Linked DNA regions of Homo sapiens: all the other regions are linked to region 1. The links are contacts of gene promoters, found by promoter capture Hi-C in blood cells and fetal thymus (Javierre and others, 2016). All regions are on one chromosome and are shown on one strand. The core of a region is centred on a gene start or on the middle of the fragment in contact, and the rest is flanking DNA. Distances in the headings are between cores, read along the strand shown.

Evidence for each region. The method cuts DNA at HindIII sites, captures the fragments that hold promoters and counts their contacts. A CHiCAGO score of 5 or more calls a contact.
Region 2: a contact is called between a fragment that was not itself captured here and the fragment with the promoter of LINC01956 in region 1, in 1 of 17 cell types (endothelial precursors). The highest score is 5.1, in endothelial precursors.
Region 3: a contact is called between a fragment that was not itself captured here and the fragment with the promoter of LINC01956 in region 1, in 1 of 17 cell types (endothelial precursors). The highest score is 5.2, in endothelial precursors.

Annotation. Positions count from the first base shown.
Region 1 is chr2:118,833,902-118,837,808 of GRCh38, reverse strand. LINC01956 (long intergenic non-protein coding RNA 1956) reads left to right here and starts at 1,663. Exons shown (of 3, transcript NR_199712.1): 1 at 1,663-3,321; 2 at 3,406-3,462; 3 at 3,677-3,907. The HindIII fragment of the contact is 14,254 bases long and covers 1-3,907 here.
Region 2 is chr2:118,334,034-118,337,940 of GRCh38, reverse strand. No RefSeq gene overlaps it. Among named protein-coding and RNA genes, the nearest start is that of THORLNC, 150 kb to the right of the region's middle. The HindIII fragment of the contact is 1,202 bases long and covers 1,395-2,596 here.
Region 3 is chr2:118,564,447-118,568,353 of GRCh38, reverse strand. No RefSeq gene overlaps it. Among named protein-coding and RNA genes, the nearest start is that of LINC01956, 270 kb to the left of the region's middle. The HindIII fragment of the contact is 1,829 bases long and covers 877-2,705 here.

The DNA.
Region 1 (3,907 bases), core at 414-2,913:
GTACACTCAGTGCTCTGCCAGCTGTAGCTCTTGGGACCGGAGCAGACCCAGGGCAAGAGGAGGTAAACATCCCAAACAGATTTCTCAGAGGCTTGGTAAGTCATGGGCCATTAAAATTTGCTCCTTGAATTTGCTTCGAATACAGCCTTCTCCACCTGGGTGCCACTCTGGAGATGGAGTGGGCCCCTCCACTCTGGAATTCTCCCCACAGGTATGGGGGTGGGGTGTTTTGAGGACATTTGGGAAGATTTCAGGCTATAGTAATGGAAGACTCTAGGTATGTGTGACCCAATAGAAAAGCAGAAATGTATTGTGTGTGTGCATGCACACACATCCTGAAGAGAGTATTCTTATCAACAGCCTGTGACTCTGCCTTTGGCAGGCAGGTGGGTGGGAGTGCCAGGAGGGGGCAGGGGATTGTAGAGGAGACTAGTGAGTACTCGCCTCCCCCTCCTCAACTCTGATGAGGAGTGGGGTATAAAGCCGGGCACAACTTAGATTCCTCTCTGCCCCCTGCCACCACACAAGCGCACGGAGAAAGCTCCATCTGGGGTGCTCGCATCCTCCCCTCCTCCTGAAGACCTGGTCTGCAGGCCTCCAGGACCAGCGCAGAGGGGCGGGAGCCTCCTGTGAGAGAGATGAGAGTCCAAAGACAGAAGGGACCCAGGAGAATTTCTGATTCAACCACGACTACTGCAAGAGTGGGCTTGGGCCCTGACAGCAGCAATCGGGCCCTGACAGCAACCATTTCCTGCAGCGAGACCCACGGCTCTGCCATCTGATAAATAGAACACAGTGGAAAACTGGACGGAGAGAGCTGGGGAGAAGCCGCCTCCACACTCCCAATTTCAATACTGAATCCTGAAGAAAACAAAAGCGAGTCCCAGTAACGACCACAGCAGGGCTCTCCTTGCCCTTCCCCCGCCCCTTCACCTCCAGGTACAGGACTTGTCCATTTAGCAGAGTGCAGGCAATTCAGAAGATGTCACTCCCAGAAATTCAAAATTAACATGATCATTAATCACTGAGGGTCTTCCGTGCACATTGCTAGCCATTTAACACAATTTATTTCCTTCAACAACATACATTTCTGTGTGTTGCCTATTATAATCCCCACCTTACAGATAAGAAAAGTGAGGTCCAGGGTCATCCTGCTAAGGTCTCACCAAATCACGTTGAAGTCTATACTGTAGTTACTTATAAATAGAAGAATGATTCGCAGTCGCATAGCGCAGTGTCAAGTCTCCACATTGGTCCTGGACTTTGGCACCTGGGGGAGCAGGGGGAGCACTGATTTGCGTGAAGGGCTGTTATCCCTCCTCTCCTCTCCTTCAGTCTTAACTAGGAGTAGCCTCAGCACCTCTCCAGCCCTCTTCCCTCTTACTCTGTAACTCAGGTCCGAGTTCCTGCTCACACACCCCTACTCTACACCTCCGACCCGGGTCTCAGATTAGCGTCCCAAGAGATTCCGATCTTTTCCCAGATTAAGATGCCCCTATCCCCGCACAATCAGCAGTTTCCCCCCTCACACTTTCCTCCCGCACCTGCGTCCAGACTGGGTCCGCCGAAACGGCCCGCCCCATCCGGGCGTCTTGGCCTTGCTCCAACCCGGCTGGAGCTGCCCGCGCCCGGCACGGTCCGCGGAGGGCGCTTCTTACAGGCACTTCCGGTCAGCGCAGCCCAGGCCGCAGGAGGGTACGGCCCTGGACCCCCTCTCTCCAGTGGGGGCTGGAGATGGGAGCGCAACTGGGGCTCCGCCGAGGTCTCTGAGGGCACTTCACCCCCGCCCCCGACCCCAGGAACTGCGAAACCCCAAATCTTCTTGCCCACCGCGGGGCGCAGGTCCTGCCCACCCGCTCTCCAGGGACGCGCGCAGAAAGGCAGTCCCGGCCGCCTCCCCGCGCCAGGGTCCGGGCAAGCGTCTGAAAGCTGTGCTTGGGCCGCAGCTCCAGCCATCGCCCCTCACCCCCGGTTCTCCCGGGCCACGTTCATTGCACAGTTTCGATTTGTTTAGGCCGGGGTCTCCTCTTCTTTCCTCAACATCTTTTTCTGTGGGCTCCCCGCCTCCGTATTCCTCCTCATCCTCTGCTCCAAGGTTTCCGTTTTTTGCACCGGAGGCCGCCCTTCTGCGACCAGCCTTCTCCGGCCGCTCGGACTCGGCCTCTGCAGCGGGGTGCACCCGGGCGTCCCTTCGGCTCCCGGCCCTCCCTCTCTCCTCGTCGCCCAGCCCTGCCTCCAACTTTGCGCCCCCGGCTGCCCCGCGCCGCGGCTCAACTGGACATCCGAACGCTCCGACTGTCCGCTCCCCTCCCCTCCCCCGGCCGACACGTGGGGACCAGCGCTGACCTTGGGTGAGGCCACGCTGTCCCCCGCTGCTCTCCAGTCACCCCTGTATCCCTTTGACTCTTGGGCTTCCGAGTAGGGGCTCCCGGAGTATTACCAGGGAAAAGGGGAGCGCCCTTCCCCTGGTAATGAGAGTAGCCACGCAATGTCGGCTGCGCAAACTGGGCCTCAGAGCGGCCAGGCCAGGGTCAAACCAGGAAGAGGGGGAGGGGTGGACAGCAAGGCTGAAGAGACCTGACTTTATTTGTGTTGCTTCAACTGGTCCTGAATGGTTACACGAGGCGCGCGCTCTTGCACACACACCGCGGGCAGCCCAAACCCTCGCTGGCTCGGCCCGCCGGCTCCTCGCCCTGCCAGTCCTGAGCCGGCTCTGAGCCACTGGAGTCAGAGGGCCCGGGCGCCTGCCTTCTCGGTGCGGGCTGGGGAGGACCTGCTCGCGAAGGGCTGCCAACTGAACTTTTCCTGCACCAGGTGAGCCCCTTCTGAAATCCTCGCTGCGGGATACTTTTTTTTTTTTTGAGGGGGCGAGAGGAAGTTGCAGAGCAGCTCCGGCCCCACCACCTCTTTCCGCAATAAAGCCACCATCCTCAGGGCGCAGAGATTTGTTCTCCTCCTCTCCTTTCTTGGAGCTGTGTGGCCAGTTCTCTTACCCAGGCAAAGCTGAGGTTTCCTGCTCGGGTTCACTGTTTACTTAGGATTTCTCTAAAACTAGCGGCGCCAACTTGCCCTCCCTCTGCGCCTTCCCTGGCGGCCCCCACCCAGGCCTGGAGGAACTTCCAGAAGGGTGAGGCCGGGCAGGCGGGGGCGAGGAGGCCGCGGCCTGGCAGGGACTGTTCTTCCATCCTTTGCTGGATTTCCCGCGCCTTCTATCCCTGCAGATTGAGCTCTGGCCTTCACCCCGGGCCTCTTAACTTCAGGTCCGCCCAAGTGCCCTCCTCTCAGCAGGCGGAGGCTCACAGCTCTGTCGGGAGTAGGGAGGTAGGTACCCCAGGGAGGACGGCTGAACCTAGTTCCACGCTTATCTGGCCTCGAGTTTCATATCCATTCTTCATGTCCTCACAGGGCTGACCGCATTGTGGTGCAAAGTGACAAGTCGAGTGTTGACTTGGGGACTGCGATGTAAGTGAGGGACCCTGGGTGTTGGTGGAGGGGAGAATGGAGGGATTATTGCCCACTCCCCCCTCCGCCGTGCCAAATTCAGCCAGAAGTTAACAAAGTTTGCTTTTCGGGATTGAACCCGTCTTGGGTTCTCCGACCGCCCAGGGCTTGGGGTTAGGGAAAGGAGGCGCAGAGTCCTTTGTGCCCATCGCATGCAAACTTTGGCCCCAAACAGGACCGGCCACCAGGAAGGGAACCAGGTATGCTCTGGGGTCCCGGGCGGCGCCCTGGCAGCGGACGTTCCCGCAGGTAGTGCGCGACTTTTGCCCCAGGAAGAAGTCGCTGCTGCCTGCAGGGTGGCCTTGGAGAGGCTCGGGCCTCCATTGAGACTGCTCACTTCCTTTTCTCCGGGACCACGGCTCTTCAGCTTTTTCCGCCCTAGGCTCCCGCGCCTCCTCAGTTCCCC
Region 2 (3,907 bases), core at 746-3,245, 500 kb after region 1:
CAACAACACATTAAAAGGATCACTCACCATGATCAAGTAAGATTTATTCCTGGGATGCAAGAATGGTTCTACATTCACACAGCCAAAAATGTGATATACCACATTAATGGAATCAAGGAAAAAAATTATATGATCATCTCATTAGATTTAGAAAAACCATTTGAGAAAATTCAGTATCGTTTCATGATTAAAAAAACTCAACAAATTAGATATAGAAGGAATGTATTTCAACACAATAAAGGCCATATATAAAAACCCTCAGCTAACATTATACTGAGTGATGAAATACTGAAACCTTTTCCTCTCAGATCCAGCACAAGACAAAGATGTCTGTTCTCATTATTTCTATTCAACATAGTATTAGAAGTTCTTGCTAGAGCAATAAGGCAGGAGAAAGAAATAAAAGACATCCAAATAGGAAAGAAAGAAGTGAAACTGTCACTGTTTGTGGATGACATGATCTTTTATATAGAAAACCCTAAAGAATACACCAAAACAACCTACTAGAAGTGATAAATAAATTCAGTAAAGTTGTAGTATACAAAATCAACATGAAAAATCAATAGCATCTCTTCACTAACAGCAGACTTTTCAAAATAGAAATCTAGAGGGCAATCCCATTTACAATAGCTACAAAAAAAAATAATAATGAATAAATTTAAACAAGGAGGCAAAAGACCTGCACACTCTAAATTATGAAACATTCATGAAAGAAATTAAAGAAGACACAAATAAATGGAAAAATATCTGGTGTTCATGAATTGGAAGAATTAATATTGCTAGAGTCCATACTACCCAAAATGATCCTCAGATTCGGTGCAATTCCTATTAAAATCCTAATGTTATTTTTTTAGGTATAGAAAAAATAATCCTAAAATTCATGTGGAACTACAAAAATCCCCAAATCATCAAGGCAATCCTGAGCAAAAAGAACGAAGCTGAGGGCATCACACTACATGATTTCAAGCTATACCACAAAGCAATGGTAGTTAAAGCAGCATGGTGCTGGCATAAAAATAGACACATCAACTAGTGCCATGGAATAGGAAGCACAGGAATGAACCCATGCATCCATGGGTTCAATTGATTTTCCACAAAGGTACCAAAAATATACAATGGGAAAAGGACAGTCTCTTCAATAAATGGAGTTGGGAAAACTGAATATTCATATGCCAAAAAATGAAATCGACCTTTGTTTCATACCATATACAAAAATGAATTCAAAATAAAGGCTTAAACATAAAACGTGAAACTGTATTTCTACTATAAGAAAACATGTATGAGAAAACCATATAACATAGGTCTGAACAATTACTTTTTTTTAGGTTTGACCCCTAAAGTACAGGCAACAAAAGCAAAACTAGAAAAATGGTATTACATCAACATAAAAAGCTTCTGCACAACAAAGAAAACAATTAATAGAGTGAAGAGACAACCTACGGATTGGGAGAAAATATCTGCAAGCCTTACATCTGATAAGCGATTAATATCCAAAATACATAAAAAACTCAAACAACTCTATAGAAGGAAAACAAATAATCTGATTAAAAGCAAAAGACTTGAGCAGACATTTCTCAAAAGAAGACATACAAATGACTAACAGACACATTAAAAAATGCTCAGCATCACTAATCATTAGAGAAATGCAAATAAAAACCACAGTGAGATGCCACCTCATACCTGTTACAGTGGCTATTATCAAAAAAAAAAAAAGGTAAGAATTTTTGAGGATGCAAAGAAAAGGGAAAACTTATAACTGTTGGTGGGAAAGTAAATTAGTGTAGCCATTATGGGAAACTGCATGGAAGTTCCTCAAAAACCTAAAAATAGAACTGCCATATGATCGAGCAATCCAAATTCTGGGTACTCAGGTTGAAAATATTTGAAAAAGTATTTAAAATTGATATGTTAAAGAGACATCTAGGCCAAGCACGATGGCTCACGCCTGTAATCCCCGCACTTTGGGAGGCTGAGCTGAGTGGATCACCTGAGGTCAAAAGTTTGAGACCAGCCTGGCCGACATGGTGAAACCTCATCTCTACTAAAAATACAAAAATTAGCTGGGCATGGTGGCAGGTGCCTGTAATCCCAGCTACTCAGGAGGCTGAGGCAAGGAGAATCACTTGAACCTGGGAGGTGGAGGTTGCAGTGAGCTGAGATCACGCCATTGAATTCCAGCCTGGGTGACAAGAGCGAAACTCCATCTCAAAAAAATAAAAATAAAGAAAAAAAAAACAGAGAGAGAGACATCTGCACACCCATGTTCATGCAGCACTGTTCATGATAGCCAATTTATGGAATCAACTTATGTGTCCATCAATGGATGAATTGATAAAGAAAATGTGGTATGTATACACAATGGAATACTATTCACTCTTTAAAAAGGAAGAAATTGTGACATTTGCAACAACGTGAATGGGATTGAAGAACATTATGCAAAGTAAAATAAGCCAAAAACAGAAAGATAAATGTCACATGTTCTTGCTTGTATATGGAATCTAAAACAACTGAACTTATAGAAGCAGAGAAAAGAATGGTAGCTACAGAGGCTGGGAGATAGGGTAGTGGGGAGATGATAATCAGAGGGCACAAAGCTTCAGTTAGGAGGAATCAGTTTGAAATTTTTTTGAGATCTATTGCACAGCATTTTGAATATAGCTAATAATTGAGTACTGTACATTTCAATATTGCTAAGAGAATACATCTCAAATGTTCTTATCACAAAAAGTCAAATACTTGAGGTAATGAATAGATTAATTAGCTTAATTTAATAATTTCATGTCATATAAAAAAATCATAACATCGCTTTGTATCCCATAGATATACACAACTATAATCTGTCAATATAAAATATTTTAAAAGATACAACAATGCTTATCTCTCTCCTCACCACTCTTACCCTCTATCTTGCTCCAAAGATAAGCATTTTTCTTAGAGGGGGCTACATCCCAGTTTATCTTTTCAATGTTTCTTATTTAATAGCTGGTGTACTACTATTCTGCACATTGCTTTACTCACTTAAGAATATACCATGGAAATCAATTCATATTAATTCACAGAGATCTTGAGATATTATCTTTCAGAATCTTTCATATAATAACATTACTTTTATTAAAAAGAATGCTAGTATAAATGTACATAAGAAAATTGGCATTTTTTAGCTATATCTTGAAGGTACATGAGGTTTGCATTGGAGCCCTTTTTTATAAGCCACAGATGAGAACCTTCCCTCTGGCCCAGCTACTCTATTCATTATAGGCCAAGTATATTACATCTCCTCTACCCATGCTCACAATCTTCCACCTACTTGAGACATGGTTCCATTCTTCATTTGAGGCAAGACATTTGAAGTAGTCATTTCAAATGCTACCTCCTCATAAAGATTCCTTGCTCCAAGAGAACTGTGTCTTTGCATCCCCAGTGCCTATCATGACAGCCAGCACATAAAAAATGTTTGATAAATGTTCAGAATGGCATAGAAAGAAGGTAGCATAGAAAGAAGATGGGTTTAGGGTCACATAAGTTTTAAGTTCAAATTCTAGCTTACCCAAATTCTAACTGCATTAGTTATCCTTTACTGTGTAATAAAATACCTCAAAACATAGCATTTTAAAATAGCACACATTTATTATCTCAGTTTCTTATAGGTCTCAGGAAACTGGCATGGCTTAGCTGGATGCTTCTGTCCCAGGGTCTCTTACAGGCTTCCATCAAAATGTTGACTGGGGCTGTGATCTCAGCTGAAGACTCACCTGGGAAACCCACTTGCAAGTTTATTTCTGTGGTTGTTGGATAGATTCAGTTCATTGCAGGGTGTTGGACAGAGGCCTCCGTCTCTCATGAGCTGTTAGCTGGTGATCTCCTTTGGTTACTTGCCACATAGGCTACTCCATAGGGCATCTCACAA
Region 3 (3,907 bases), core at 542-3,041, 270 kb after region 1:
GTTCTCACCAAGTTTCCTGAAAGGGAGAAATTATTATTCTCTCTCTTCAGATGAGGAAACTGAGGCTCAGGATGGTTGAACAACTTGGTTAAGGTTATGCAACTAGTGGGTAGCTGAGTCAGAATTTGAACCCAAGCCTCTGAGATTAAAAGTTCCATGCAATTCCTACTCTGCCACAGTAAATCTACTGGGACCAGGGCACTACTAAATCCTGCAAAGGATGTAAAAATAAACCAAAGGAGAATCCTAGTTTTTAAAAAAATGGTCTGAAAGTTGAGATTTGACATATCTATAAATAATAGTGATACAAAATAGAGTGTGATAAATGCCTAGAGAGAGGTACAAATAAAATATGAAGGGGTTTAGAGAATCCAGCGATTGCTTCTCGGTAGCATGGGCATTTGCAATGGGACTCGGAATATCAGTAGGATTTGGGTCTTTGGCTCCAAAAGGAAAGAACTCTTCTGTAGATAAACGGAATGTTCAACGGTCCCAACCAACACAACATGAGGTATGTTTGTAGCTGAGTTTGGGATCAGCTACCCAAATAGGGGTATTGAGAAATGAATTTGGATAGGTTCAGAGTTTAAGCTACATATATCTTCTAATATCTGATGAAGAGTGGAGCTGTTTATTTCCCTATAAGCAACAGAGAGTTAGTGGAGGTTTCTGAGTATATAATTGGAAAGCTTACTTTTGTTTTTTGTTTGTTTGCTTATTTTTGTTTTTTTGAGACAGAGTATCTCTCTGTCACCCAGGCTGGAGTACAGTAGTGCAATCTCGGCTCACTGCAACCTCTGCCTCCTGGGTTCAAGTGATTCTCCTGCCTCGACCTCCCGAGTAGCTGGGATTACAGTCATGTGCCACCAGAAAGCTTACTTTTGTGACAGTGTAGAGGCTATTTGGGAAAGACAGGGAGAAGAGGCAGAGGACAAGCTATGGGGCTATTGTGGTAATCCAGTTTTTGAGGATCCTGACCTCGTAGATTGTTTGACTTCTGTACATTTTTTGGCTTTGCTGTTGGGAGTGGATGACTATCTTAATGTCCATTAACACAACTGCCTGAAGTTTTAGGCACCCTATGTCAGTTGCTTTAAGTCATTCTTTAGAATCCAGCAAGGCTCCAAGGGCTGAATAATACCAAGCATCTGGGTACCAACTAGGATGTGAACAAAGCAAGAGGTACCGCTTGCTTTTCTCCAGTGGCTCATCCAGAAGCCTCATCATTTCCAGACCAGTGCCTCCACTTCAAAGGCTTGCTCCTCTTAGGGATATAGAATCCCTCTCTGCTGTGGAGAGAGGAATGGAGAATATACGAGAAGCATAGAGGGCTGGGAGGCAGGGCCAGATTCCAGGCTTTGTGACATCAATTCTCTTTGGCTTTGGACACACCACCTGACCTCTTTGGTCAGTTTGACCATTTCCCAAACATAGAGAATATAATTTTTGTTCATCTAAATCTGGGCAGGATTATATAGTGCATAGAATCTAGGGTATCCGTTTTCAGACTGGGTCCTAAAAGCTCCAGGTTTCTTTGGAGATGCTTCAGGCACTCCCCATGGGTAAGAAGTGTCTGAGCAGATCCCTTTTAATCCATTGTATTGATACATATTGGGCTTCTGCGGCAAATACATGACGAGTGAATGAATGAATGAAGATTTAAACCACTGGCGTTGTGTAAAGAGATTCAACTGAGAGCCAGAACATATAAGAGAGTCCTGGATCTGTCCAAGCAAGCTATGAGATTTCTAGCAAGCCATTTATCCTCACCTTGAGCCCCTCCTTCTTCCTCTGTCACATGCTTGGCTTTGAATAGATGATCTGTGTCCCTTCTAGTGATGAGGTGATATTTCTTCATTACATGGGAATTATAGGAACACGGATAAAATGTATTGTGGCAATGATTTAACTAATATTTAAAAAGCAAGTCCCAGTATCACATCAGCTATGCAGACTACGACCAGGCACAGGGAACCAGGCCTCCAAGCCATTGCCACAGGCATGAACCCAAGTTCTTGCTCAGACCTTACTAATTCTTAGTTTGTGTACAATTCCAACATGCTCGGCTAATTGATGTTATAGCCTGCAGCAGAAAACCCTGTAGCAGGCAAGAAACAGCTAGGGCAGGTACTTATGCAGCTGCACAAGTGATAGTCTGACACCAAGCTAGTAGAAATGCAAAAGGTGAAAAGTATTAAGAAGCTGGCATAAGAATTTAAAAGTACTTGAAGAAAGGGATCATTGACTATAGAAGCAAATATTTTTATACAATCTAGTTACATCCATCTTCCTCTCTGGCAGGAGTTTAGCTCATGTGAAATCCAGAGGAATCCAAGACAGTTAAAAAATTGGCTCCCAAGTTAGAATAGATGAGTTAGCCAAGAAACAAAGCAGGGGATACACCAAATATTTGTTTCAAAAAGCCAAGCTATCAAATCTGAAGTCTGAGAGAAAAATGGACTTAAGAAAAACAAAAAGTAAAAAGCACACGTGGAGCCAAGGGACCCAGTGTTGAGAGGATTGTTCAAGTGGTTCAATTAGATGCACTCATTCATATTCCGGTGATGACCCTGGGCCATTATGATCAAAATAAATGACACGTGTAGGCTCTACTGAAGGAAGGAAGCTGGGAGTGCATATTCTTTCTATCTGGGAAGGTTTCTAACAAAAAGAGTGAATCTGCGGAGGGGAGGGGTTGTCAAGCTTTGGTTCTTAAAGGGTTAACCCTTAGTTATCTGGAAAGTCTTCTTGAAATCCCACAAAACATGCGGCCTTCCCCTGGGCTTTCTCCTCCCACTAGCGGTACACCAGATTCTGGCCCCAGGGGTCTCTGGGGTGTGTTCCATGCCTGGAATGGCCAGGCGTCTGAGCGAGGCTGTGATGCTGTCAGGGGTTCTGTCTGTCTCTATTTGGTGCTGCCTTGGGAAGATACACAGAGAAGGCAGTACTGAAACCCCAGCCGCCTCATGCCAGAGAGTGCCTGTCCTTGCTTTTCTTCCCCATCATTCTGCTGCAGAGGCCAATAATTGGCAACAAAGCTTATGGATTTGATTATGAGGAGGGTTGCAGGATGGTGAGAGTGGGCAGGAGCCTGGGCCTGAAATCCTTTGCGAAAAGCCAAGAAAACACCGGTTTGGATTCCTGTTACCTGTGGTAACACTTTCCTTCAACAAGTGCCTGTAAAAGCGGAGAGGCATTCTCGACACGTGTCCAGGAGGAAGTCTGGACACCACGTCACAGATGCAGCGCTGGGAGGAAGCAATGGGAAGACTCTTCAGGGAAAAAAAATCAGCTGATGTTGCCACGTTAGTACTCAAGGAACCTGTAAACGTCAAAAGGTGAGAAACTCTCAGTCCGATGTCTGCTTGGAGGTGTGGCCTCATGGTGAGGATTCATCCCACGTCCTTCCAGACTCTTGGGAACTGCAGGATGGCTGCCCAGGGATGGGGAGGGAACCAAGGACTACACTAAGCCCTTCAGCTACGTTTGTTCCCTAAGTCCTGGCAACAGCTTGTGAACCAAAAGTATCTGAGACAGGTCTCAATCACTTTAGAAAGTTTATTTTGCCAAAGTTAAGAATACACCTGTGACACAGCCTCAGGAAGTCCTGACAACATGTGCCTAAGGTGACTGGGGGACAGCTTGATTTTATACATTTTAGAGATACATGAGACATCAATCAATATGTGTAAGATGTACATTGGTTTGGTCTGGAAAGGCAAGACAACTTGAAGTGGAGGGTTTCCACGTCACAGGTAGATAAGAGGCAAATGGTTGCATTCTTTTGAATCTTTGGTCAGCCTTTCCCTGAACACACAATTTTAATGTGAGAATGGAGTAGAGGAATAGTTACTTATGCCTTAGTCTGGCTCAGTGAATTTGCATTTTTACATAAACAATAGGGCAT